Linked DNA regions of Homo sapiens: regions 1, 3 and 4 are each linked to region 2. The links are contacts of gene promoters, found by promoter capture Hi-C in blood cells and fetal thymus (Javierre and others, 2016). All regions are on one chromosome and are shown on one strand. Each heading gives the region's core, a stretch centred on a gene start or on the middle of the fragment in contact. The rest is flanking DNA. Distances are from core to core; before and after follow the strand shown.

Evidence for each region. Contacts are between HindIII fragments. The CHiCAGO score rates a contact against its expected background, and 5 or more counts as called.
Region 1: a fragment that was not itself captured here is called in contact with the fragment with the promoter of MNS1 in region 2 in 1 of 17 cell types (fetal thymus); the score reaches 8.1 in fetal thymus.
Region 3: a fragment that was not itself captured here is called in contact with the fragment with the promoter of MNS1 in region 2 in 1 of 17 cell types (fetal thymus); the score reaches 6.1 in fetal thymus.
Region 4: a contact is called between a fragment that was not itself captured here and the fragment with the promoter of MNS1 in region 2, in 1 of 17 cell types (fetal thymus). The highest score is 5.4, in fetal thymus.

Annotation. Positions count from the first base shown.
Region 1 is chr15:56,926,645-56,934,169 of GRCh38, reverse strand. The region is part of intron 3 of TCF12 (transcription factor 12); the gene reads right to left. Among named protein-coding and RNA genes, the nearest start is that of TCF12, 12 kb to the right of the region's middle. The HindIII fragment of the contact is 744 bases long and covers 2,122-2,865 here.
Region 2 is chr15:56,463,646-56,471,200 of GRCh38, reverse strand. It overlaps MNS1 (meiosis specific nuclear structural 1), which reads left to right and starts at 6,064. Exons shown (of 10, transcript NM_018365.4): 1 at 6,064-6,231; 2 at 6,954-7,175. The coding sequence starts at 6,229. RefSeq lists an enhancer at 2,512-2,561 and a silencer at 5,885-6,134. The HindIII fragment of the contact is 3,006 bases long and covers 5,218-7,555 here.
Region 3 is chr15:56,888,944-56,896,665 of GRCh38, reverse strand. TCF12-DT (TCF12 divergent transcript) reads left to right here. Exons shown (of 4, transcript NR_015419.2): 3 at 6,499-6,652. Among named protein-coding and RNA genes, the nearest start is that of LINC03065, 5.7 kb to the right of the region's middle. RefSeq lists an enhancer at 4,256-4,815. The HindIII fragment of the contact is 1,463 bases long and covers 3,270-4,732 here.
Region 4 is chr15:56,862,702-56,869,465 of GRCh38, reverse strand. No RefSeq gene overlaps it. Among named protein-coding and RNA genes, the nearest start is that of LINC03065, 21 kb to the left of the region's middle. The HindIII fragment of the contact is 3,931 bases long and covers 237-4,167 here.

The DNA of each region.
Region 1 (7,525 bases), core at 1,244-3,743, 470 kb before region 2:
TGAGAATAAAGGACTGAAGGGCACTAATATGGGGGCTCTATGGTTTGGAATACAATTAACAGAATCCTCACAAAGACTATGTCTGAGGATTTATTTTACTTTAGTGCTTCAATTTCCCCCATTTAACCAAAAAGACTCATCCAAACAATTCTGAGATTCTGATGAATTTATAAGAGATTCTGATGATTCATCAGAATTCTGACATTCTGATGAATTATATACAAATATTATATATATTTCATTCTGATGAAATATATATTTATATGTAAAATAATATGTAAATTACATATTAAAAATTATAAGGAGTTCCATAGGCTAGTGTTCCTCTCAGTCACCTGATTTAATCTTCAATAACTGACCATCAGAAATGTTTAAGTTTTATATGAAGATTCCCTCTCTCCATATGTATATGAAAAGCTTGGAATCCCTTTCAAGACTTGCTATGCCACCTAATAACTAATATCTGTACAGACCACAAACCTCCACATTTTAGAATTTCCATAAAAACTTTTAATCTGCTCATTATCACAACACCCTCAGGCAGTATTTTTATTGTCCTCATCTTAGACATAAGATAAACAGACTCAGAGAGGTTAAAATATTCTGCCCTAGGATCACATATCTAGTAAATAATAAAGCCAACACTAAAGCAAGACTTCGAATCTCCAAACTGCTCCTCTTTCAAATATACCACAATGTATCTTTATTTTCCACTACCTTAAACAAACCATTCTACACAGAACAAAAAACAGAGCATTAGTAGGTACTCGCTCAAATACCTACAGATGCTCTTTAACAAAACAACAGCCCAATCTACTTCTAAGTAAATAAAAATACAAAATGAACTAATCTTAACCCTTTCAATATTAGCATTATTACCTTTCATTTAATGAATTAAAAGTTCTGTTCTATTAAAGTATCTTCTGTATGTTTGATAACATTTTTAAACTACTTTTGGAATAAATATTTTCCATCCACTTTAACTTGTTTTTATAACTAAACACTAAATCTTTGAAAAAGGGGAAATAATAAAAATTTTCCATACTATGAAGTAACCATTCTTTTCTCTGACCTCAACTAAATGGTAGCTGTGAATATTCCAATATCTTCCAACTATCAAATTTCATATTCTTCCCAACTCACAAAGTCTAAAGACAGCTTAACAATAAGACCACACAAAAAAAGAATTACACTTTTATAAAGCTATCTGAGGTTGTAGCTATTTATATTTAATGTCTTGAAATACTAAAAATAAAGTCCTTAATTAACTATTTTATGGAGGCTTTTAATTATACTGTTTTCTCCTTAATAAAAATAAATCGGCCAGGCACAGTAGCTCACACCTATAATCCCAGCACTTTGGGAGGCCAAGGTGGGCAGAATTAAAGAACAGCCTGGCCAACACAGTGAAACCCTGTCTCTACCAAAAATTACAAAAATAAGTGTGGTGGCAGGTGCCTGTAATCCCAGCTACTTGGAAGGCTGAGGCACAAAAATCGCTTGAACCCGGAAGGCAAAGGTTGCAGTGAGCTGAGATTGCACCATTGCACTCCAGCCTGGGCGACAGAGCCACACTCTGTCTCCCAAAATAATAATAATAATAATAATTAAATAAATAAATCTTGAAGCACTTTTGGAGAATATCAACAGTACCCCATTTAAGACTTCTTTTTTTCTTCTTGTCACCTTGGCTTCAGATAAGACTTCTTATTATAACAAATTTCAAAGATTTCTAGAGATACTAAATTCCTCCTCAAGACAAACCATGCTCTTGTAGATTGGTATCAGTGCAGGTGCAACTACAACTGATTAGAGTTTGCTACTTCTGAGGGGCAATAAGAAACCACAGGCAAATGTATTTCACTGTTGATTTCTCTATTTCCTCTGTAAAATGAACAGTTACCAACTTCCTACAAGAGTTATGAAGTAAATAGCATATGAGTAAATATTTATGAAGCACTCTTATCATCACTGATTTTGTTTTAAAACAATAAGATTCCTCCCCTTCTCCCAATCATTCAGTGGACAAAGTCCTACTGCTATTATAACTTATTTGGCAAGTCTCCAGAGTCAAACTCAGTGAGAATAGAGTCTGCTCGCTACAGGCACTGTTCCTAAGCTTGAGAAGAGGGATTATACAAATATGAAGGCAAGAGAGACCCTGGCACTATGGCATGTTTTGTGTTCCTGCAGTACAGCATCTCAAACCCCTACAAACTTTAAGTGGATTTAATTATTCAACATTGTATCATGGTTCTTAAGACAATAACACTAGCAACAGTACAAGCAACAGGCTTGCAAAGCCACCAGAAAAGTCAATGGCTTACTGGTCTACCTCTCAAAACAGACTACAGCAAACTAGTTTATTACACACTTCATTACTACTTTCTTAGTTTATATTAAACAGTAGTGGGTCTGAGCCAATAACAAGCTCCTGAGGAAAATTTTACACTCAACAGAATCATAACCTGTTTTTAATTAAGATGCCTGTAATGAGTATATTTCAGGAATAAGCATCATGCTACTAATCTATGAAAACTTTTCACCAATATAAAAGGAAAGAATAAAGTTTACCAAAGACTGATTTTGTCTGTTCCCTACAGCAAAGTATCTTGGCTCTACTTTTTCTTCTTGAAGATGATTAGGATTTTCTTAACTGTTTGCTCTCAGTAAAAATTCAAAAAAGTATGGTCAGGGCTGAGGCTTCCTTATGGTAGAGATCATATAATGCTTCTTATATATACAAAATGGGGACCAAATGAAAAGAATTCTACACTCCTGATTTTTACCCTGAAAATTTCTCTGCATGCTTTAACTGACCAGAGAAATATCAGCACACTCCTTGGCCCAAAAGATGAGAAAGCTTCTCTCTCCTCAAAACAGATCTTGATTCCCTAAATCAATGTATTGGGTGGACTACTCAAAGAATAAAACTCAGCCTGAAAAGCTTATATTCCAAGAAGAATTTGCTTTATATAAACAAGTCCACCACAATTTTTTTTTCTGTATTTAAAATGATGAAGTCTCTAGTTGAGACTTTTGAGAACAAAAAGTTCTTACTGTGAGTTGAAAACAATCCCTGGGGTGGGGGGTGAAGGAACGAGGGAGAGGAGGAGGAGAGAGAGAGAGACAGATCTCCATAATACCTTTTCTAAAATCCATGGGGCCAGGTGGGTTTTAGAACTCAGTTTTTCAGATTTTAGAAAGGAAACATAGTATATAGGTATATATGTCACACGCTACAAATCAGCTACTGGCAACCACACAGGAACTAGGAAAATAGAGAATGTCAATGGCCTCCCTTCAGATAAGATCAGATTTAGCCATCAAAATACTTCATGCTGAAGTTAACTGTGGTTGAGATCTTTTTGGATTTCAAAACTGCAGATAAGGGACTGTGGATCTCTAACTGGGAAAAGGGGATCTTGACAAATAAAATATGCTATCACCTAGAATAAAAAAAAAACTAGCTGATACTTAGATAAAAGATATTAAGGATACTTAGAACAGTCTTGCAATGCCTCTAATTATCTACCTAATTGGAAAGTTACAATCATTTTAACTTATATGTTCCTATCAAGAGATTCAACATGAAACACTTTTCCCTTTAACTCTATTCCCAACTGAGAATAACACTAAAAAACATTTTCTAAAATCCGAGTATGTCAGTACCAAGTAGATTAAGTAAATGGGCCTCCGGACCACATGACAAAGTTGGCTAGATATAGTGGGGTTTCCAAATAGGAAAAACCTAAAAGGATCCTGCAGGAGAACTCAAAGATTCTTACCCTTGGCACAAGTGCCCATATAAGCTCAGATTTTCTAAACTGACCTGTGGTCAAACCACGCTACTGTTTAAAGTGAGCCTAGCATTTTTTACACTCCAAAGGTACAAACCAACCACTTATTCATCCCCAACCACCTCAAAACAACAACATATGCCTCTGGGACCAAGAAGCTGGATGACTGTAATTCCCTCCCAGCAGAGATACCTTCCATGCCCAACCAACATTCACAACTCTTGCCGACAGCAGCAGCACATTCACTCACTGACTGGAGTAGCCATGATTATATTAAGTCCAACCTGTGTTCACTGTATCAGCTACCAATGAAGTGATGAAAGAGTAATTATGAGTCAATCTTGTTCATTTTTAAAGCCTGGAAATAGCTCACAGGCAAAACTAACAGAAGCAAATACACTGACAACTTTTGAGGGAGGCCGCCTCCAGAGAGACTTCCATTTGGCAACTAGAATGATCTTCCATAGATTACCACAAATTTAGAGAAACTCCCTCAGTTCAAATTCAGGCACCTTCCTAACACCACAGAGCTGATAAAATGACATCTTGGGCCAAATTATCCCAATTTTAATAACCAAAATACAGTAAGTTATGGTAGTAGTGGTTTTTTAAGGGAAAAAAAGGTAGTATTTTCTGTCCTGTACCTTATCTCAAATTGTTTTATTATATTATTTTGAAGGTTTCATCCCTGAGTCACCACCCACTGCAATAAAAATTAGTAACCAATCTCTAATGCATTTTCTTTTCTGTGGGATCTTTAAATGTGATCTTTAGGTCCCCAAGCAGCTTACAGTAGCTTGGATGACTCACCATGGTCTTTATGAGAGCACATTTTTAACCTGGAACACATGAGAGCACATTTTAAACATGGAACAAAAAAAAACCAAAGCTCTCTCTATAAAAATTACATTTTCTTTTCAAGTCAAGGGTATCTTTAAAAATTACAGAATGATCTGGCTGGAAACAAGAAAGTTTCAAATAACAGTCATGTTATTAACAAAACTATCTGTGCTTCAGTTTATGAAAATAACAGTTTTCTTTCTACCAAAACCATTTTTCCCCCTGATGTAATGATCCCTTTTTACAGGCTTCTATAGGAGCAAGAAAAGGTGCATGAAAAAATACAGCTAAAGATATGCTCTAGAGTTGGGCTTCTCATTAAGGATTGGCCAGCATTCCATTCCACCCTGACCCTTATCCCCAAAGATACAAACCAAAACAGGAGGAAGGTAATGCCATAACCCAAAAATGATGCAACTTTAGAACTTCAGTTTTACTCAATGATTAATGAAAACATATTTAAATTACTACAGATATGTTTGTGGTAGCAAGTAGAAAATAAAATGTACATGAATTTTTAAGATACAATTTCTTCCACTCACTTGCAACGTGCTGCTTCAGGCTACCAAGGGAGTTTATGTTCCTTCTTCTCTGCCATTAAGAAAAAAAGTGAATACGTTCTACCCTAGAGACTCTTAACATTCTCTCCAACCTGTTCCCAGGCGTTCTATCCTTTCCAGTCAAGTAATTTTTATTTTACTTAATTATTTAGACTATGCCTCACTCCAGAAAGAATTTCAAGTAGCTGGAGAAAGAATATGGACAAAATGCTACATTCAAGTGGCGGTGATGCCTAAGCATGGAAAAGGATTTTCAAAAGGTGTACACATTCTCTTCATTATTCTGCACTCTACAAAGTATAGTCTACAAAATAATAACATTAAGAATAAATCAACTAAAAAAGAAAAGTTAAGGTTCCTGGGTACTTCATGACTTTTCAAAACTACTTGTATGCCTGATTACTTCTCAGACTTCATATACACAATTTTATGGCACTAAAAGCAACTCTGACTTGTTGCTCTTGTAGGGGTATTGCCTCACTTCCAACACCACAGACAAAACATTTCATTTTATCCAAAGTAAAATGAGATAATGCCCATAAATTGCTTATCACAATGCCTAGTATATAATAGGAGTTCAATAAACACTAGCTATAATACTGGCTTTATAATGATTTCTAATATAATCACTAGTATTACCGAGAATGCTAGTTAGAAGGTACCACAATAATAGCAGCTACCATTTTTTAAGCAGCTTTATAGGAAAAAAATATATAGATAACCTTATTTAATCTTCACAAGGATTCTGTAGGTGGGCATTATTACCCACTTTTCACAAATGAAAAAAGTATAGCTCTGATTATTTAAATATCTCACCTAAGGCCATCCAGCTAGTAAGCTGCAAGTCATCGATTCCAATCCAGTTGTCTGGCTCCTGAGCCCAATTCTTTCCAATACACTATATTGTCTCTCTCACAAAAAGTCAGGAATTCAAGGGCTCTCTCACTGACAAGACTCCAATTAGACTCCACTCCATTTCTATAAGCACAGGTCAAAGAATGACAGGAATTCCCTCCAGTCACCACACAACACATTTGTATACAAGCACAAATGTGCTCCAAATGTCATAATGCATTCCATTCACATACTAATAAAATTTTGTATTATTACATTAAATAATCAACCAAAGTCACTAATTTTATACATGTAACTCCACCATTAACATCAATCCCTGGCCTGATAATTTATCTCCCTCTGTGTTCATTTCCCTAAGGGAATTCATTAGTTTTAATTATTAACTTGTAGGCACAAAAAACAAAATTTGCATCTCCTAACCAAAAGAAATCAGAATGTGGGCAAAAACATATACATACACAAAAAGGTGGTCAGTACCACATTATTTATCATATCAAAAAGCAAATTAACAAAAATCCATAAAGGTCAAGTAATAAAAGAATGGATTTGTTAAGTTATGCTATATTCATTCCATTTAAGAGCATGCAACTATTTTAAGCCAAGTTAATAACAGGAGAAAATGTTAATGGTAGAAGATTAAGTGAAACAAAAAACAGGACATAAATGAACTAACATTAAGTTACCAGCTTTGCAAACGGAACTATAAGAAAAAAAGACAAAAAGGAAATAAATCAATTTTCTCTGGATACTGAAATAAAGCTAATTTTTCCCCTTTTGCTTTTTCTGTTCTCTAATTTTCTTTTCAATTATGACTATGTATTAACTTTATATGCAGAAAAAAGACGGTCTTCTTTTTAACCAACATCTTTACCGAGCATGCTTCCCTCATACATCTCCAAATTAGCCAGAAGAGTCCCAGGTCATGTGAAATATAAAATGCAAAAAACAATTCAGCATCTTTACTACCTCCAGCACTACTATCCTCCAATTATGTCAGAACTGCAATCTTGAGTCATTTCTCTTACCTACAGAAAGCCAATCCCTCAAATTCTAACAATCCTTTACTTCTGTTATTTTTCCTTCCTATTCCCTACACTAACACCAAATCTAACCCTTCACCAGCTCATCCTAGATTAGCATAAAGGCCTCCAAAGTAAATAAATGCCTTCCTTATTTTAGTGTCTCACCACTAACAATTTACTCCACCACAGCTAACTATGTGCTAGGCACTATTCTTGGAACTTTACATGTATTAACTCATTGAACACTCCTAACAACCTTATAAGGATAACGACTATTATTAGTCCTGTTTTATAGATTAAGAAACAGAAGCAGACAAGTAAAGGAACATACCCAAGATCACTGTGCTATTCACTGGTAATTTCTGGATCTGAACACCTGTAGTCCAGCTCCAGATAATAATATGTAAATATGAGCTCCCCCAGGAATTAAGGAGTGGTGATTAATAAA
Region 2 (7,555 bases), core at 4,815-7,314:
AAACAAGAGACCTATGATAGGTTAGGTTTTCACTCTATATATTGAACTCCTCATTGATATGTGGACAGAAATCAACAAGTAGAGGACCAAGCAAACTAATTAAGTTTACCCACCATCTCCAGTGGGATGGGTCAGATGGAAGGATCTGTTTCCTTGATTCCTGTCACATGTACCTGTTGATCTAATTGGATTCCTTGGCACTACCTGCTTATAAAATTAGTATTGAAAGTGTTGTTTCCTTTCTCTCCAGATGCTGCCTTTATGCCTGCATCAGTTTTCCCTAGCATTCCCCATACTTCCAAATTAGGAAGTCTCTGCTTCTAACAAAATATCGTTGTTATTGCTGATATGGACACAAATCAGCAAGTACTGGATACCTAATACAATTTAGTAATTGTCATTATTGTTCTATAAATACTATGTAGAACATATATTGTATAATATTCTATGAGCACATCGCATTTCATTATGTATAAATTGTTATATCATCTACGATACTGTTAACATGATATCTTTTATTACAGTCAGAGTAATTAATTGTAATACAAATTTTAATAAAACAAAGCTGGGTTTGCCTAGGAAAGAGTAAATGAGGAATCACTTTGGTTTACTACTCTATAATTATTGGAAGGATTGGTACAATTAGTTGAAAATACTTCAAATATGTCTGATTCAGTGATTCTTTGAAAAAATTATTTGGAGTGGAGTGATGCCATTGACATTGTGGGAAAAATTCTTAAAATGTGAACTTTGCTATAATTCAAAGAGGTATCTTCCTAAGATTGAGAAAGAGAGGCAATATGGTCTAACTCATTTTCAAAACTTTCTGACCTTCACCCTTAGTAAGATACATATTTTACATCGTGACCCAATATATACATTCTATCTATCTATTGATAGGTCAATCAATCATCTATCTAGAACTAAAAAGTGTCACAAAACAATACCTAGTTAACTAGATTTGATGCACTCTATATTTTCTGGGCTATTCTATTCCATTTCTTTTTAAATACTGTTTGTGATCCATAGTTTGAAAAATGCTGGATTCATGAAAAATGAGCTAGGAGACAGACTTCGTACAAATCTCTGTCCCATGATTACCCCTTTCTACGAGCTTGCCTAGTTAATTCTTTCCTTTGAATCTTGTTTTCTTCATCTATAAAGTGAATGGGGTTGTTTTACTAAGTAAAGACAATTACATGTGAAGTGATTGGCACGTAAGAGGCACTCAATAAATCAATAAATGATAAGGTAGCAGGATAATGTTTTCTAATATTAATCAAGTGTTTTCCACTACATTTCCTTACGCGCTTTGTCGTCTATTATGAAGGCAAGGTTGTTACAGAACTGCTAGACTGTTCTTACCTGTTTGGTCTTTCAGTTAATTGATTCAGTGTCTCTTTCTCTTTCTCTGTCTCTCTCCCTCCCTCCCAGACATCTGTCAGCAGTCCAACAGTCCAAGCAGGGTCCAAGGACAATGTAGACAGCCCTGGGCCTCTGCCTTACTTCCTGTGCTCACAGCAAGCTTAGCCTCTTTGGCTCTCCCTCCTTGGTGACCACATTCTTTATCTGCTGTTCCCCATGGAGGGCAGCTGTGTTCCTCTTTTTCCCTAGGACCTTAGAGTCAGTGCCCAGCTTCTGAGTGCCCAGTTATTCTCCTTTCCCAAGATGCTGCTGCTCAGGTTTTCCACAGTTTGCCTCTTCTGGGCTGGCCCCTCTGGCCCTCCAGACACACTTCTCTAGGTACATAGCTGATATGCCACAATTTAATTAGCCATTCCCTAAACACTGCATGTTTAGATCACCCATTTTTGTGGTGTTTTGTTTTTGTTTTTTTGCTAAATTAGAAAATTTTGCAATAAATAAAATCGTGCCTTTAGTCGTTTAAAATTTTTGGTCTGGTTAAGTTTTCACTAGAAAAATTGCCATAAATATATCAAATGTCATCAAATTTGGTACCTTTTTAAAGTTAAGAAATGAAAAAAATCCATATAAACATAGTTTACACATGTATATATCTCTATATAAATATAGGTATATATGTATACTTTTCTTTTTACCAATAAGAGCTTATATAATTCAGAAGGGGATTCCTCCACTCTTCATGATGAATTTAATATGGTCATCTTTACTTCACCGCTAGCCAAATTACAGTCTCTGTGCATCATATAACAAATTCCTAATGACATCACAAGTTATTTGACATCACAAATTCTGTATTCCATTCCTATATACATAATATGTAGATGCCAGTCTTCTATTTTACTACTCATTTACAAATAGTGGCTTTTCAATAAAATTACCCAGGTAAATTTTTATTCATATCTACAATGAATAAGCATTCTTTCTGTGTAGTGTTCTCAACCCTAGAAATCAATATATTACAATTCTGTAGTTCTTTCTCAGTGTTATGCTAGAATTCATGAAGTCAGCAATCTCCTATTCCTGTAGACATAGTGAAGATGCAAGAGCAAAAGTGAAAGTGAGAGACGAGGAACGAAAGACATCCACTAAGCCTGGGTTTCAGTGAGCTCACCAACCATTTCTTCATGTCTCTTTACCCCTAACAATTATTTAGCACTTGATCACATCATCACACAGTCCATATGATTCCCAGATTATGGTGGCTAAAATATCCAGAAACAGATTTTCTTGTCTTAATGAAACAATCAAATTCAATATATGGAAGTTAGCCTATTCTGCATCAACCAGAAAGTAGTCACTTCCTAACTGCATATGACAGACAGAAAAAGTACTAAAGGAAGTTATATACAATGAAACCATTAAATGCAGATTTGCCACAAGGCAAGATGGTAATACTTGAACATTATGAAGTGCAGAAACTGCACAAGCACATTATATTTTAAACACTTCATCTATTTAACAAACTATGTACCCTCTTCAGCTAAATAAGATGAATTGAGATTCAAGAGGCAGCACCATACTAGCAAATCTCATCCTAAAGGCATCCATTAATATAAATCAACAGCAGCAATTTGGTTTGATCACTTATTTGCAAGAATCATTAAGGTTTATTAGCATAATTGTTCCCTCTGGGATTTCATGTCGAGAAAATGAAGAATGGCATTATCAATATTTAAAAGATAAGTGTGTAATGTTCAGAGTATTTCAACAGTCATCTGCAGGTGGTGTCCAGCTGCAGCAAATTAGATTAGATTTGGGCATTTTTCTGAACGAAAGAAAAATTGTTTTGTTCTAATTGCTTTATTTTATAAAGCAATACCATTTCGTAAATAATTTTTACTGTATAGCTACACTTAACAGTGCACATCTATTAACATGCTTTATTTCAGATCAGCAACTCTGTTAAGTTCAACCCTGTTATATTGTAACTACTGGGGGACATTAATCAGTATAATTCATCATCCATTATAAGGAAAAGCTCCTTCCCCTCAGTACTCTAGACATTTTAGTCTAGACTTGTAGGTAAAAAGTTGTTTTCTAGAGGGAAATGAACGAGAAGACTTCCTTGTAATGTTGGGAAGGCATAAGTCCTCCCTTAACAATGAAGTATCATTTATGATAGTAATAATTTATTACTAGAAATAATATTTAAATGTAATAATTGTTTTTTAATAATGACATGCAATGGAATGTTATTTAGTGATAAAAATAAATGAGCTATCAAGTCACATAAAGATTTGCAGGAACCTTTAAATGAGTTTTGCTAAGGGAAAGATGCCGGTCTGAAAAGGCTACATACTGTATGATTCCAAAGATACGACATTCTGGAAAAGGCAAATCTATAGAAACAATAGAAAGATTAGTGGTTCCCAGGGGTTTGGGAGGAAGGAGTGAGGGAGAAATGAATAGGTAGAACACAGAGACTTTTTAGGCAGTGAAACTATTCTGTATGATACTGTAATAATAGATATATGACAATATGTCTCAATTTTCTGACCTCAAGCAACCTTCTTGCCTCAGTCTCCCAAGTAACTGGGATTACAGGTGCAAGCCACCACTCCTGGCCAGATACATGACATTATGTATTTCTCAAAACCCACCTGGGAGCAGTGGCTCATGCCTATACTCCCAGCACTTTGGGAGGCCAAGGTGGGTGTATGACTTGAGGTCAGGAGTTCAAGACCAGCCTGGCCAAACTGGTGAAACTCCGTCTCCACTAAAAATACAAAAATTTGCTTGTAGTCTCAGCTACTTGGGAGGCTGAGGCAGGAGAATCGCTTGAACCTGGGAGGTAGAGGTTGCAGTGAGCCGAGATCATGTCACTGCACTACAGACTGGGCAACATAGCCAGACTTCATCTCAGAAAAAAAACAAAACAAATCCTCATAGACCTGTACAAAACAAAGAGTGAACCCTAATGTCAATTACGAACTTAATCATATTAATATTGGTTCGTCAAGTGTAACAAATGTACTACACTAATATGTAATGCTAAAAATAGGGGAAATTGTATGGGTGCGGTGGGGAGGAGAGGTGAGACGGGGAATTCTCTGTATTCTGTCAATTTTTCTGTAAACCTAAAACTGCTTCGAAAAAGGAGCAAAGTCTATTAAAAATGTAGTAATTGTTAGGATAATTTTTTAAAGGTTAAAATCAGCTAATTGTTACAATTGATTAAATTTGTCTTGGATTTAGGTCAATATTCTGGCCAAAAATCTTTTTCTCAGATTACCTATGAAATTATATGAATCCTTCTACCATATCCAAGGGTATACTGGAAATGAGGAATTATAACTGAAGTTCCCTTTAGAGACGAAAGTCTTCATTTCGAGAAGTAAACAGTAAAAAACATACATGTTTGCTGAAATACTTTGCAATGTCACTATTTCACTATTAGGAATTAACAAATTAAACCCCACACTCTATTGAATGTGTTATACCCTGTTCAACCCTGAACCCATGCCTGTCTCCTGTCTCTTCTATACAGTGCCCAACCCTTTGCGGAGATGGATATGCCAAGAAGAGAAATTTATAGCAGGCTGCCTGCTTTGCTCCATTCCAGATCAATTTACACAGAACACCCAGAGGGCAGGTTTACGCCTTCTCTCCATTTCTCTCAAACAGTGATGGCAATGAGTGGAGTACTAGAGACAACATAGATATGCAACCACGGGATAAATGACCAAAGGACAGAGAGACGAGCGACCTCAGTTGTATGATGGAACCAAGAGAAGTCGCTGATTTTTAGTTGTTTTGATCTGGTTGTAAGGATGGGGTGACAACTTCCAAGCTTTTACACGTCAGCACTGAAACTGCAAGTCCCATTTGTTATTAATCTTTAAGCAGACATATTGCTACAGAAGACGGACTCCAAATTAGAATAACACAAAGTTATACCACTAATCACCTTATACAAATATTTTAGTGTTGACAAGATTTCTCTGAATGTATCATTTCTAAAATCAGTATATCTAATTTCTCTGATCCATTATCATTCTTAAACTTCCCATTTAAAATGGACTTTAGTGTCTAACCTGCCTATGGAATGAACCAGATCAACATCCTGCCATCATGTAACGTGCTCTCTCTTGGTACCTGGACCACATAGCAGAGTAAGATTCATGTGGCTCATAGATTTTAGTCCCAAAATTTACCAGCAGCTTCTGCGGGGGGGGGGGGGGGGCGGGGGGGTGAAGTGAAGGCTGCTGGAAGCTCGTGCTACCCTCAGTGCCTCACAACCCAGCAAAGGGGACAGCGACCTGGACTCCCATTGCTGAGGATTAAACCAGTCATCGTCCCTAGCAGAGACCTGGCTGACTAGGCACTTAGTGTGCGGGATGCTCCATGCGTGGAAATTTCCTTCGGCTCCATGCATTAGGCAGTAGTTTGCGTATTTCTCTGTGCGCAGTCTCCACAGTCCCGAACTTGGCTCCCAAACCCACTGAAACCACAGTTCGGCCGCTGGAGGGAAATCGAGCTTCCCTAGCCCACTGCAAAGTGCTTGGGTCAGGCCACAGTCTGAACTTCCCGCTTTTCTAGTTTAGACCTATAGAAGTAGCCCTCCTGCCCTGGTCCTAAGAAGCTCAATGCCGATTGTATCTTATCGCGTCCAATGGGAGGCCACGTTCTGCGTGGGTCACTTTTGGTCGAGCGGAGGGCGCGCAGCTCCACCGTTGCCAAGACGCCGCGTAAACACCCGAGCGCGCGCAGCCAGGTGCGCTCCTTGGGGCTGCTGGCTGCTGCGTTTGCGGCGGGAGGTGGTGGCCGCGGTCCCACGAGAGGGGGTATTTTTCGTCAGCCAAGATGGTGAGCCAGTTGGGGGACTTGAAACTACTTGTTTATTGTTGATTTAATTCTAGTTTGGCGCTCATCTGCTTCTAAAAAAGGATTTTAAGTGCTTAATCTGGTCATTAATTGGGGAACTTGTATTTGCTTTCGGAGGCTTCAGGTGCTATTAGAAGGGACGCTCGCGGTGGTTTCCAGCTTTTTTGGCACTTTTCGCATAGTGTATTAAATACATCTTTAAATCTGCCCAATAGAACCTCTGAAGAAATAAGTAGATATAAAAGTGTAGGAGAAAGCGAATTGATAAATAGCGGCGAATTGACCTATTACATTTATGTTAGGAAAATCTGACCAGCTTCTGAACAGCACTTTATGGCCCTGTGGTGGTAGTCGTGGTGGTGGTGGTGGTGGGTGGAATGAGGGGAGGAGAAATTCCCTGGTGGTAGTAAAGATCTGGGTCTGTAGGGTGCGATTAATCCTAGCACAGCTATTTATTAGCTGCAGAACCTTGGGTAAAGTTACTTTTCATGTTTCATCTATAAAATAGGTAATAATAACAGTACCTATTTAATCGATATGTGAACATATTTACCACGTTTACTTTTTATTCGGTATACTCCTTTGAATTTAGGAAGGAAGCCAGGCTCTTCGTATCCTTTCTTACTAAGGTTTATATCAATACATTTTTTAAAATTAGATTTTGGAATATCAAAATATGCATCTTTTTTTTTCTTCCATCGTAGGGTTCCAAAAGGAGAAATTTGAGCTGTAGTGAAAGGCATCAGAAATTAGTAGATGAAAACTACTGCAAAAAATTACATGTCCAAGCTCTAAAAAACGTCAACAGTCAAATCAGGAATCAAATGGTGCAGAATGAAAATGATAACCGTGTTCAGCGCAAGCAATTTCTCAGATTATTACAAAATGAACAATTTGAGTTGGATATGGAAGAGGCCATTCAAAAGGTAAGTTTTACTATTCATTGTTACTTTTTTTTTCATTTTGCACCTTGGAAACGATGAAAGTCAGCTGTTAATGCTGGAAATGAGTAGATAAACAACAGCAGCAGGTAAGTGATGCCTGATTGTGCCTCAGCTCGGTGTAATCGTAAAGACCTGGGTTTCTGGAGCCGGCCTGTCTTTGAATCCTACTACTGCTATACCTTAGCTACGGACCCTTGAGTAAGTTGCTTTTACTTTTTTTTTTTTTTGGATGGAGTCTTGCTCTGTCGCCCAGGTTGCAGTGCAGTGGCACGATCTTGGCTCACTGCAACCTCTGCCTCCGGGGTTCAAGCGATTCTTCTGCCTCAGCCTCCTGAATAGCTGGGACTATAGGCGCGCAACAC
Region 3 (7,722 bases), core at 2,752-5,251, 430 kb before region 2:
AGCGTGAGCCACCACGCCCGGTCTGAGATTCTGCATTTCTAAAAAGCTTCCATTTGATATTGATGCTGCTGCTCCATGGACCACTCTGCAATGACGCAGTGGATATCTGTTTTGGGGGGAATTTTTGTTTTTGTTTTGTTTTCCCAGCTGCCCAGCATCTGAACTGTCTAAGCTTGGAGAATTCACTGGTATGTGAGTCTTAGAAGTAAAGCCTGATTCTCACTTTCTAGAAACTGATAGAAGTCATCACATAGTCACTTCACCATCCCCCCTTGCAACTTGGATTCAGGTGCTTGAGCTACCCTCCTCTAATTAGAAGCACCTGCATGGCTTTGAGTCAGAAACTAATAACCCAAAGAAGCAAGGATAGCAGTCAGTTCTCTTTCTCTTGCAACAGTGCAGTTGTGGCCAAATTGAGTTCCCAAAGCAGTGGTGTTGGTCAAGAAAGGAGCAGAGTCTAGCATGCTCAGCAGCATTAGTAATAGTAATCTTCTCACTGGGTTGCCTCTGCAGCATTATTTTGGGCATTGGTCTTGGCTGCACCACTTTGAGCTTGGTTCTCAACTCACATAATGATTCTGTGGGCTACCCAATTCCTTTGCCGCTAAATCATGCAGGATTGATTTTTGTTGCTTGAAACTAAAAACCCCATTGAAGCCAAAGGGTCTGCCAGAAGCTAGATGGCTTGCACAGCCCCGTCAGATGCACTATGTTTATGGAATGCCACCTAGGTCACCACTCAGCTTGATCTTTGCCTCACAGAGTGAAGAGGGTTCAGAGAGAGAGGCAAATGCCCTCTAGGTGGAAGGGTATCTATTCCCTGGCATACATTTCTATGCCTCCTCTGGAGAGGTTTCTGACAACGACTGCTTTTGGCTTAATAGGACTAGATTTATATGCTAACCCTGTCACCAACTAGTTATGTACATGAGTTTGGGCAAATTACTTAGCCTCTATGAGCTCCATTTCCTTGGCTGTGAAAGGGAGTTAAGACATGTTTTTATTATTGGATTTTTTCACATTATACATGATTATTTTACAACTTTTTTGAAGTATAATTTACATATAATAAAATTCACTCAAGTGTACATTTCAATTACTTTTAGTAAATTTATTGAGGTGTGCAGCTATTATTATAATCCAATTTAAAAGCATTTTCATCACCCCCAAAAGATCCTTCATGATCATTTATAGTTAATCACCATTCTCACCCCTAGCCCAGCAAACACCAATCTGCCTTCTGTCTCTATACATTTTCCCTTTCTGGACATCTTATATAAACAGAATAATACAATTATAACTATTTTTTACACTAGCTGTTTCTGCTATACAGACAGTCCCTGACTGACAATGGTTCCACTTAGGATTTTTTTTGACTTTATGATGGTGCAAAAGTGATTTACGTTCAGTAGAAATTTTACTGTTGAGTACCCATACAACCATTCTATTTTTCACTTTCAGTACAGTATTCAATAAATTACACAAGATACTTAGCACTTTATTATAAAATAGACTTTGTGTTAGACAACTTTGCCCAACTGTAGGCTAGTATAAGTGTTCTGAGGATGTTTAAGGTAGGCTAGGCTAAGCTATCACATTCAGTAGCTGTATTAAATGCATTTTTGATTTACAATATTTTCAACTTAAAATGGGTTTATTGGAATATAATCCCGTCATAAGTGGAGAAGCATCTGTATAGTGAGTTTCCTAAAAGCCTATATCTCTATATCTAACTGAATTGTTTATCTACAAAAGACATAGCACAGTGTTTGTATATAGTTAAGTGCTCCAGATAAGAAACAAAACACTGATACTTTTCCTATGATGTGGTTGTGGTGAAGATTAAATAAATCCATTAGACTTTTGCTACTCCAAGTGGTATCAGCATCACCAGGGAGCTGGTTAGAAATGTAGTCTCAGGGCCCATCCCAGACTTAGCGAATTAGAATCTGTAGTTTCACAAGATTCTCAGGTGATTCACAGTCTCATAAAAGTTTAAGAAGTACTATTCTATTGTAAGTTCTTTGAGGGCAGGGATTACGTGTGGCACATAGCATGTGCTCAGTAGTATTTTTTGTTTGAATAAATGAATGGTGCCACATAAGAAAGTATTTTGTAAACTTAAGTCTTACATACACAGGACTTTAAGTATAGGACTTTAAGTCCTATATACACAGGATTGTGAAAGAACAGCGGTATAGATTTTGGGCTTAACTATAAAATCTTTTAGAGAAAGTTTGGACTGGCACTTATAGTCCTAGTTTACATATCGAAGCAAGTATATTTATTTTTCTTACATCTGAGTGACAATTCCATGAGGAAACCGAGTTTTAGATAGGAAATATAATAGTCCCTTAACTGAAATTGACTTTATAGTGAATTTATTAGCATGACAATTAATTATGAAACTTCTGAAGATTGACAAAATTTATTTGGTTCTATTTTCTGTAAGAGATAAGATCTTGATCAACAGCTAGGAAGCTGATGGTCAGGCTTTACGGGACAGGATTGGTAGATGTTGTATAGTTATTATCAACCTCTAACAAGGAAAACCCATCTAGTTTTCCACTTACAGTCTTCTGGCTTGAAATGCTTTAATTTATTCATTTAATCATTCTTCAAATCATCAAATATTTATCAAATTTGTCACTCTGACGAGTGCTGTGCCAGGACTTTCTGATGGATTGCCAGGTACAATATTCTTGAGGAGTTCCATATCAATACAATGACGACACCTTTTCAACTACATGGGCTAACAAAAGACTTTTTATGAATTCATGAATGTTAAAGTCTTAAAATGCTATTAAAATCAAACCACATTGGCTATATATTTAACAAGTCTGTTGAAAAGGGTAAAGTTATATTTTCCAGATAAATCCAGTCTATATGGTTAATACTTACAGAATAGGAATTGCTTGTACTTAGGGTTGCTCAAGGAATATAAGAGGGGTGTCCTGGCAATTTTCCATTTGCACCTACAGATCCATTTTTTACCCTATTTGTCTTGCTTTTTACTGGCAGCTGAACTCTACAGACTGTGCCACACAAGCCCTCTGGTTTCTGGTTTGGTCAATGGGAGGTACCAACAGAAGTTTGGAGGATGGGAGGAAAAGAGGACAAGTGTTTATTCCCCGGTCCTTTGCTGGGCCACATTTTGGCAGTGACTGTATTTCTTTATTTATAGTAACAGCCTTTGTCAGGCATCCCTTTCCAAGCTACAGCTCTTACAGGGTTCCACTAATAGCTCCCCTCCCCTGTTCCTTCAAGCTTAAGGTCTCCCATTGTTGCCAGTCCTTAAGTACTTTACCATTCCTTGTTGGTTCCCTTAACCATTCCCATCCCTCTATAAATTATCCCTTTATTAAGCTCTTGTTACCTTCTTAGAGTGTGCCATCTTTAGTAATAAAAGAAGAGGCCATAAATCAGCCAGTATCTAAGGACCGCCTGCTGAGGTGGCACTGTTAAGACATATAATACATGATCTTGCTCTTGAGACACTTACAGTCAGCCCAGTGAAGGAGATAAAACCAACACATGTGAAGCAATTAGGAAACACTACACATTGTCATCTAATGAGATACTCCGTTTGTTTGCCTCTTACTAACATTCACCCTTCTTCTGGTAACCATCCCCTGATTTTCCTCTTCTGTTACTTCAGTCAATGTCTTTTGGGTGGAGTGAACTTCATTTTCAAAAACATTAATGACATGAATCAGACCTGAGCTACTGGATTCCTCTAGCCACATATCCCAATCAGAGCCAGTGAAATGTAAGAAGACTATTGCTGGCACCTGTGGGAAGGAAGCATGCACTCTTCCACTGAGATTGCTAACAGTAAGGATTATGTAAACTGGAGCTGTCAGCAGCCACCACATGGAGCCTAAAAATGAAGCCAGCACACAAGACAGAGTCAAGAGATGAAAAGAAATAGAATTCTAATGACATTGCTTAAGCCCTTGGATCAAACTATGCCTTAAGCTAAATATATAACTAGTTTTTCACTAAAATAGCTCTAACAATTCATAAATTGATACCAGGAATGGGGATTAGTAACAGAAAGATCCAGAAATGTTGAAGTAGCTGATTCAGATGAGGCCTCATTGGTATCAGGCTGGGACTTCGATACCAAAGCAGTAGGTTAAACTGGCACCTGTTGTATAGTGGGATTCAGAACATGTGCCTATCAAGGATAAAATGTAAAAGGGCCTGTTGTTAAAAGGTCGGATACTAAAATATATCAACTATTACTTGTTAGTTTTTAGTAATGTCCTTTAAGAAAGGCTCAAACTTAGGACTAAGATTGATTTATCTAAGGCAGAGAGGAAAAGATACCACTTTGTTACAAGTGAACATTTTTGCTTATAGGCTGCAATAAAAGATGACAGAAACATCAATAATCTGGAGCCATAAAGGGTTGAAAAAGCCCCAAGAGGATGTTAATGTTAATGAAGGCAAGAATGGATAACATTGGCACTAGGGAGAAGTCTTAATACACTCAGGCCTCTTTCAAGCAATTCCTGCCTGCTGAGAAAGGTAATAGTTATTCCACTCTACTCCCTCCACCACCAGCTCACACACCATCATCACTCCCTCCCCTTGCAAACCCAGTGGCTATTGTTTCAAATTGTTATCAGGCAGAAACCAAAATAGAGGCCTCTAAGTTAGAATACCAAGGCCTATTACTAAAAGACAAAAATGCTCAGATGAAAATCTAGATTCAAAGACTGAAGCTTAAAAAAAACCCTCTGGCTTTGGAATTCTCCCCCTATGGAATTGGCCAGATGCAAATAGACTAGAAGTTTACTAAGAATTAAAGAAAACTGGGCGAGGCACAGTGGCTCATGCCTCTAATCCTAGCACTTTGGGAGGCCGAGGCAGGCGGATCACCCGAGGTCAGGAGTTCAAGACCAGCCTGGCCAACATGGTGAAACCCTGTCTCTACTAAAAATGCAAAAATTAGCCAGGTGTGGTGGCACACACCTGAAATCCCAGCTACTCAGGAGGCTGAGGTGGGAGAATTGCTTGAACCCGAGAGGTGGACATTGCATGAACTGAGATAGCACCACTGCACTCCAGCCTGGGCAACAAGAACAAGACTTTGTCTCAAAAAAAAAAAAAAAAAAAAAAAAGAATTAAAGAAAATTGTACTGTGAGAGAAATCCTAAGTGTGGAGAAGAAAGGCTAGGTTACTTAAGCTTAACACAATAGATATTTATTTTTCACTTTTGTAAAGTCTAACATCAGTGCCCCTAAGTAGCAGGTGGTCTTCTACAAAATCATTCAACTACCCAGACTCCTTCTATCTTATGGCTCTAATGTCCTCCAGGTTCTTAGAGACCTTTCAGTGCAGCCAGAAGAGGGAAAAAGAGACTGGCAAAGGCATACCTACTACTTAACCAAATTGGCTAGAAGTGGTACACATCACTTTCACTCATATTCCAATGGAGACAGTCATGTGACTTTACCAAAGTTAACAAGGAGGCTGGGAAATGTAGCCCCTGGCTAGGTAGCTACTTCCCAGCAACAATTGTATACAACAGAAGAGGTTCACAACTCTTGGGTGGTAAAAGCTAATTATCTTTGCCATAGGAAGTGATTTTTCAATTCCCACTAGATCAGGAAGGAGAATGCTGAAGAGGTGTAGTCCCTAAAGGATTATCCTCCCATTGTCCATTACAGACATAGCCATGGAGGAACAATGAATGAGAGGTCCTCCAGAAATAGAACATATGGCAGCCAGATTGGTTGATCAAAGAACTTTCTCCCCTCTCATGTTAGGAAGCCCTTGCTATTCCTGTCTAGCAAGATATGACATATGCTATGAATTAGAGACATTTTGTGTTTGTCATTATTCATATTTCCAAATATGCATTTTCATTGCAGTTGTTCTTTTTTTCTGTCATTATATATTAAGTATTTTCTAGTTAATTTTATCATACAGCCTTAGGTTACTAGGCCATGAAGAACTTTATCAAATTGCTTTATGATATAGAGGCATGCATATCACCTTACTATCCTGGACTTGGAGTTATTTGTAGGACCTAGATGTGAGTACATTTTGGGTGGTAAAAAAACATTGTTACATTGAGTAGCCATAGATATCATTGAAGGCATATGTAGGGGAAGAATGTTTGGAGACCTCAATAAAATACCAGGGATGTGTTTGTGTCTGCTGTTTCCATTACCCAGGGCACATCTGTGCTTCTTCTGATAACCATACCCCTATTTTAAGTAAAAATCATCTGTGCCATTCATATGTTACTGATAGACACAACTCCTGGGATGGGCTTGTGAATCAGTCCAGGCCAATCTGAGCATCTCATTCTTTTGGCTACAGTGATTGGCTGACAAAAGAATGGGCGCTTGACCTTTGCTAGTAGTGAGGATGGTCTGGAGCTTCTGGTTGCTCATTTGTGGAATGAATGAAGCAAACAGCAGAGGAGAGCGCTAACATGTGGGGGAGAATCTGACTCTCTTTTTTTTTTTTTTTTGAGACAGAATCTTGCTCTGTCACCCAGGCTGGAGTGCAATGGTGCAATCTCAAGCTCACTGCAACCTCTGTGCAGGTTCAAGTGGAGAATCTGAATCTTGATGATATAATTGGAACTCTTCAGCCAAGCCATATCTAACAGAACTATCTTCAACTTTTCAGGTATGTGAGAATACATTCCCTTCTCACTTTACACCAATTTGGGTTGGATTTTATGTCACTTGTAACCAATGGATCCTTACTGAATCAAATACTAAATTATTTGAGGATAGATCCATAAACAAATACATATAGGAATGAGTGAATATAAATGTACTTCTGGGGCAAACCTAACTAAAATGGAAGTGGTAGACTGAGGAGTGGTTCACAGAGTAGAAGAGAACTAGGCTGGGGCAAGAGCTTGAAATTCAGTCAGGGCTAGGCACAGTGGCTCACGCATGTAATCCCAGCACTCTGAGAAGCCGGGGCAGGTGGATCACTTGAGCCCAGGAGTTCAAGACCAGCCTGGGCAACATGGCAAAAACCTGTCTCTACAAAAAATAAAAATAAAAAAATTGCCAGTTGTGGTGGCACATGCCTGTAGTCCCAGTTACTCGGGAGGCTGAGGTGGGAGGTTCACTTGAACACTGAGAGGTAGAGGCTGCAGTGAGCTGTGATCGCTCCATTGCACTCCAGCCTGGGCACCTAGGCGACAGAATGAGAACCTGTCTCAAAAAAAAGAAAAAGAGATTCAGTCACAAGAGTTTAAATTTAAGGAAATAGAAAATGTAGCCATAAAGGTGCTGAAGCACAAAGAAATGTGCTAAGAGTGAAGATTCAGAACCATTATTCTGGCAAGTTAGATTGGAGCAGAGCGAGAAGGAAGTCAGAAAGGCCACATAGAAACTGCTGAACTAAGCCTAGCTGGCTGCATTTAAGGGCTTAGACAGAGAACCTGAAGTAGAGACAGAGGAAGGGATCTGACAGAGGAGGTATTTTAAAGGATAAATTGAAGGCCCTGAGATGACTGGATAAAAGAAATAAAGGGAAGGAACAGGTAAAAAATGACATCGGTGTTTTCAGCTTGGGTGGCAGAGATAGCAGTGGTATCAATGAGAAAGAAGGGAAGTGATTTTGGAAAGATAATGAGATTATGAGATTGGTTTTAGACCTGTCGAAACCTAAAGATGGCAGGACGTCCAGTTAGATACGTTGATGAGATAAAGAGGCAAATATACAAGTTGGGGGAAAAA
Region 4 (6,764 bases), core at 953-3,452, 400 kb before region 2:
AGTATTCAGTACAGTAACATGCTGTCCAGGTTTGAAGCCTCGGAGCAATAGGCTATAACATATAGCCTAGGTGTGTGGTGGGTTATATCATCTAGGTTTGTGTAAATACATTCTATGATGTTCACACAATGACGAAATCACCTAGTCAGGGATTTTTCAGAATGCATCCCTATCGTTAATGCATGAATGTATGTGTAGTTATATACATTCACTGTATGACACACACACATAAAGCTTATCCATTGTTTTCCTTATACAAGTCTTTTTTTTTTCTTTCTGAAGGTGTTGACATTCAACTGGGAGTTATGTGTTTGTGTGCATCAAGGTTTATATTCACACCTACATGAAGTATTAATAGTGATAGAAAAACGTAAGAAGTAAAGAATAAATTACATTCAACTGTGTTGAAAATGCTCATAATTTATAAACATGATTGCTTTTTCTTCCCTCTATGAGATGATTACAAGTGGCTCAAAGCAAAGGATGTGAATAGAATCAAAATATTTAATTAATTGACCATTGAAGTGATAGGGGCTGATAGTAGATTTCCTGTCACTAAATGAAAGACATAGTCAAGCTGGGATAAATGTGATTGGCCAAATATCTCCACGACGTGTATGTCCGCTTTCTGTCATGTGTCTGTGGACACTGCCGGTGATTTGAATCAATATAACATTTTTTATTATTGTAAATAAAATGCTTCATTTAGTTCTTTCTCTGACATGAGGAAAAATTGTTCTCTGATGAACTACTTCAAGAAATATCCATTGAATTTTGAATACTGTGACAGTTTTATTTGAATTTATGACCAGTAATAGAACTACATACAGGTGGTACTGAGTTTCTACAAGATCCTCACTGTCATTTAAGCAACACAGATGTTTCCTTTATTCTTAATGAGTTAATCCCACTGCCATTCAAGCACAAGGAAGAAGGAGAAGGCGCCCAAAGGCCTATGTACCTAAAGGGAGTAGAATAAGCATAAAGCCTAGCTAATCTACAAATTTGATAATTCACCCTTGAATAATTGAAAATTTGATATATTTGCATTAGGAATGTGTAAATCAAGAGCACTGAAGTTCAACACATGCTGCGCTAAAATTAAAACAGTACTCAGATGGACTGAACCATGATTTATGATGTGCTTTTTTCAGTCCTTGGCATAGAATTTCCCTACTTACAAAAGAATCACAATGGAAAATACATAAAACTAGCTTTCCCTCTTGAGATGAATATTCTGCATATAATAATCTCTTGCTTCTTAAGTTACCATTCAGTTCACTTCAACAGTCATCTACTGAGCACCTTATTATGCTATTTCTGAAGATTCAAGGACGAATAAAACATAATCCCTGTTCTTAAGTTGTTTTCTCTTAATCCAAAGGATTGAAATAAAGTCAAGTGATCAAGGTACTGGGTTGGGGAGGCATGAAATAAGGTGTGAAAGGACGTATGGCAGACATTTGGGTCTTATTCTTTATAGCACTTTTTTTAGTAATCACTGGCAAATTGTTCTCCTACCCAGATTGCCTTCCCCTGTCTTTGTCAGCTCTTAGTATTGTCAACCTATCTTGTCTTGGGTTTAATAAAATATTCATCTAATAAATATGTGTGTTAAACTCTTAATGTACAAGTAACTTTTTAAGTGTTGTCAGTGACACAAAGTGATTGTCTTACAGCTGCTCACAATTTTCAATATTGTTTGAAAAGATAGTCACAGGAACTAACCCCCAAACAAGTCAAATGATGATTAACTTTATCATAGGATTATACATTGCACTCAATAGTGACAATGTAAAGTCAGAGTTCAGTGTGGAGAATCAGGTTCTTGACCAAGATTACACCACTGGTAAGCAGCAGAGCTGGGGTTTGAGACCAGGTCTGCCTATTGCCAACACCAGCATTCTTTTCACTTTAAAATTGCAACACAAAATAACATCATAAACATCAGTGCTTATCACAGACATATGCAAGGTTAAAATTGTTTTCAGCATTTTATGTGGAACTTTTACTTATTGTTATACTTTTGATCTATTGAGTGTCTTTTAGGGCCTTTTTCACACTCTAGTCTGTCCCCCCACCTAGAGGAGAACTCCTTTCTTTAGGATGCAGTGGAAAGAAACATGGACACTGAAGTATATCGCTGGTTATGTAGAGCAGGGGTCCTCAATCCCTGGGCCATGGACAAACTTTTCCCCCATCTGTGGAAAAATTGTCTTCCATGAAACCAGCCCTTGGTGCCAAAAAGGCTGGGGAATGCTAACATAGCGTCTTCAGTTTTCTCATCCATAAAAACCTCGCAGGGTTGTGGTAGAGATTAAAAGAAATAATTAATGCAAAGTCTCTAGCATAGCATGTCACTGACAGACCACTCTGGAAAGGTGAGTCATCTTCCCTTGAATTAAGAGAAAATATGCCTTTAAGTCCATCTGAGACAATACATTACAGCTGACAAGGACTGGAGGCCTATCTTGTTTACCTCCGTTGTTGCCCAGAGTGGAGCATGGAAATGCAGTGCGCTGATACTCTTTTCTCAAGGTCATATTGACAAATGTAAGCAGAAGTTTGATCATGTTTCTGTTCCTGTTTCTAGAGAAGTGACAACCTACTCCTAAAACATATTAAATAACTGGTCTGGATTTGGGGGAGTGTTATCCACATTTAATAGTTTCAATAATAAGATTGTGGGAAAATAATTGGCCTTCTGTAATTATTAATGATGTTGAACAACTTTTTATTGGTTTATTTGAAATTTATATTTTTTCCAGTGATTTGTCTGTTAATGTTCTTTGTCGTTTACTTAGTAATTTGCAGGAACTCTTGATAGATTATGGAATTTAATTTTTTTTTTTTGTGACGGAGTCTCGCTCTGTTGCCCAGGCTGGAGTGCAGTGGCGCGATCTTGGTTCACTGCGACCTCAGGCCTCCCAGGTTCAAGTGATTCTCCTTTCTCCTTTCTCAGCCTCCCAAGTAGCTGGGACTACAGGCATGCACCACTTGCCTGGCTAATTTTTTGTATTTCTTAGTAGAGCTGGGATTTCACCATGTTGGCCAGGCTGATCTGGAACTCCTGACCTCATGTGATCCACTCGCCTCTGCTTCCCAAAGTGCTAGGATTACAGGGGTGAGCCATGCCATCTGGCCTGTTGGTATATCTTTTAAATATAGCTTGTCTTCGAAAGATATATTGCATATCTTTTAGTTAGTTTAGGTTATCTTTTCCATACATGAATTCTAAATTTTTATGTAGCCCAATCTGCCAAATCTGACATGCCCTGTGAAACTCTCTACAATTCAAGGCTATATATATTTCTTCCATGTCCTAGCACCATTTGTTCAAAACAGTATACTTTCTCCTCTAAATTGCCTTTTCACCTTTGTCAAAAATCTGTTGTCTATATATGTATGCATGGTTTTATTTCTGGACTCCATCCTGTGCCAATGATTTCTTTGTCAATCTTTATTATCAATAGCACATTGTATTGGTTACTGTAGCTTTACGATATGTGTTGAAATCAGGTAGCATTAGCTCTCCAAATTTTTTGTTCTTTTTTGAAATTGTTTTGGCGATTGTAGATCCTTTGCATTTCCACATGAATTTTATTATCAGCCTGTCAAATTCTGCCAAAAGGCCTGCTTGAGATGGAAATGAATGTACAGCTCAAATTGGGAAGAATTGACATCTTAACCATATTGAGCCTCCTGAAGCATGAAAAAGGTATATCTCTTCATTTATTCAGATTTTCTTTAATCAGTGTCAGTAATGTTTTGTTGTTTCCAGTATGCAGGATTCTTACATCTTTGGTCAGATTTATCCCTAAATGTTTTCTAGTTTTTGGTGTTATTATAAATGATATTGTTTTAATTTTTTTTTATTTTCACTTGTTCATTAGTGGTAAATAGAAATACAATTGATTTTTTAATACATTAATTTTGTATCCTGCATGCTTGCTAAACTCATTATTAGTTCTAGTACCTGTTTTGTAGATTCTTTAGGATTTCCTACATAGATGGTCATGTTGTCTTCAAATAATGACAGTTCTACTTCTTTCTTTTCCATCTGGATGCCTTTAATTTCTTTTTCTTGCTTACAACCTCCAGTTAAATGTTTAATGGAGGTGGTGAGAGCAGACATACTTGTCTTTTTCTCAATCTTAGAGGAAAGCTTTAATTTTTACAAGTATGATGCTAGCTGTAGGTTTTTGTTTTTGTTTTTATAGATGCTGTTTATTAGATTGAGTATTCTCTTTTATACCTAGTTCGCTGAGAGTTTTTTTTAATCAGAAACCGATGTTGGATTTTTTCGAAGGCTTTATTCGTGTCTATTGAGACTATCATATGCTTTTCTTTTTAAATTAGTGTTTATATGGTGTCTTATATAATTTTTTTGAAAGTAAAACAACTTTGAATTCCTGGTATAGACCTAACTCAGTCATGATGTTTTATCCTTTTTAAATATTGATTGATTTGCTAAATTTTGTTTAGCATTTTGCATCTGTGTTCATGAGGGATATTGGTTTGTAAATTTCTTTTTTCGTTATGTGTCTGTGTGGTTCTAATATCAGGGTAATGGAGAACTCACAGAATTAGTTGGAAAGTATTTCCTTTTCAATTTTTTGGAAATTTGTGAAGAATTAGAATTATTCATTAACTGTTCATTCATGAATGTAACATTCATTAAATGTTTGGTGGAATTCACCAATAAAGCCATCTGGATCAGAGTTTTCTTTGTGGGAAGGTTTTTAACTGAAAATTTTGTTTCTTTAATAGATATACATATTTTTGTTTTGTTGTTTTATTTTTGAGATGCAATCTCAGCTCACTGCAACGTCTGCCTCTTGGGTTCAAGCGATCCTACTGCCTCAACGTCCCAAGTAGCTGGGACTGCAGGCACTCACCATCATGCCCTGCTAATTTTTGTTTATTTTTAGTAGAGTCGGGGTTTCACCATGTTGGCCAGGCTGGTCTCGAACTCCTGGCCTCAAGTGGTCCGCCCACCTTGGCCTCCCAAAGTACTGGGATTACAGGTGTGAGTCACCTGATGCCCGACCTATCTCTTTATATTATCTTTTTCTTCTTGAATGGGCTTTGGTAGTTTGTGTCTGTCGTGTGTCTGTCCTTCATCTAAATTGTTAAATATATTAGTTTGTGGTTGTTCATAATATTCCCTCATTATCCTTTTAGTATCTATGGATATCTATACTGATGTCATCTCTCTGACTCCTGATATTGGTAATTTGTGTCCTCACTCTTTTTTCCTGGTCAATTTAGAAATTTATCAATTTTATTAATCTTTGCAGGGTAGCTTTCAGTTTCCTTTTTCTTTCCCCTCCTCCTTTTTTTTTTTTTTTTTTGAAACAGAGTCTTGCTCTGTCATCCAGGCTGAAGTGCAGTGGCGTGATCACAGCTCACTTCAGCCTCGGATTCTGGGGCTCAAGTGATCCTCCCACCTCAGCCTCCCAAGTAGCTGGGAACACAGGTGTGCACCATTCCATCCAGCTAATTTAAAAATTTTTAGTAGAGACAGGGTCTCGCTATGTTGCCCAGACTGGTCTCGAACTCCTGGGCTCAAGGGATCCTCCTGCCTTGGCCGCCCAAAATGCTGGGATTACAGGCACCAGCCACATTTCCTTTAGCTTCATTGATTGTGTCTCTGGTTTTTCTGTTTTTGATTTTGTTTTATTTCTTTGATTTCTTCCCTGATATTTATTAATTCCTTTTTTTGCTTATTTTGGGTTTAATTTGCTTTCTGTATGACTTAAATCCTATTATGTTTATTGTGACTTGTTTTGTGGCACAAAATATTGTTTATCTTGATAAAATATCTCATGTGCACTAGAAAAGAATGTGTATTCTGCTGTTGTTTAGTGGACCTGTCCATACAAGTCAATTAGGTCATCTTGGTTGATAATGTTTGGAAAACCTGTATCATTACTATTTTCTGCTGACTTGATCTAAGAATTATTGAGAGGGGGTATTGAAATATTTTATTAGAATTGTGGATTTTCTATTTCTCCTTCTAGTTCTATTAATGTTTGTCTCATGTAAATTGAAGTTCTTGTATTAATTAGGTGAATAGTGTTTTTAGAATGTCATATCCTTTTGGTTAATTGACCCCTTTATCATTATGAAATGACATTTTAAACTCTCTAGTAACAGTGTTTGCTCTGAAATCTAGTTTGTTGGTCATTAATGTACCCATTTATTCTTTCTTTTGTTAAAGTTAACTTTTTTTTTTTCATTTTTAAACTTAACCTATTGGTGTTTTTCATATTTAAAGTGTATTTTTTATAGATAGCATATTATTGCCTTACTTTTTTATCCAATCTGATAACTTCTGTCTTTTAATTAGGTGTGTTTGGACCATTTACATTTTTTTCTTCTATTTATTTATCTTTAATTGACAAATAAAAATTGTATATATTTATGGTGAAAAACTTGATGTTTTGAAACATGTATACATTGTGGAGTGACTAAATCAAGCTTATTAACATATGCATTATTTCACAGTTATCTTTTTAAAATTTTTATTTTTTAAAAAATTTTGGTGGATATGTGGCAGGTGTATATATTTATGTGCTACATGAGATGTTTTGATACAGGCATGCAATGTATTACACATCATGGAAAATGGGGTATCCATCCCTTAAGTATTTATCCTTTGTGTTTCAAACAATCCAATAATACTCTTAGTTATTTTTAAATGTACAATTAAATTGTTTTGATTATAGTCCCTATGTTGTTCTATCAAATATTAGGTCTTA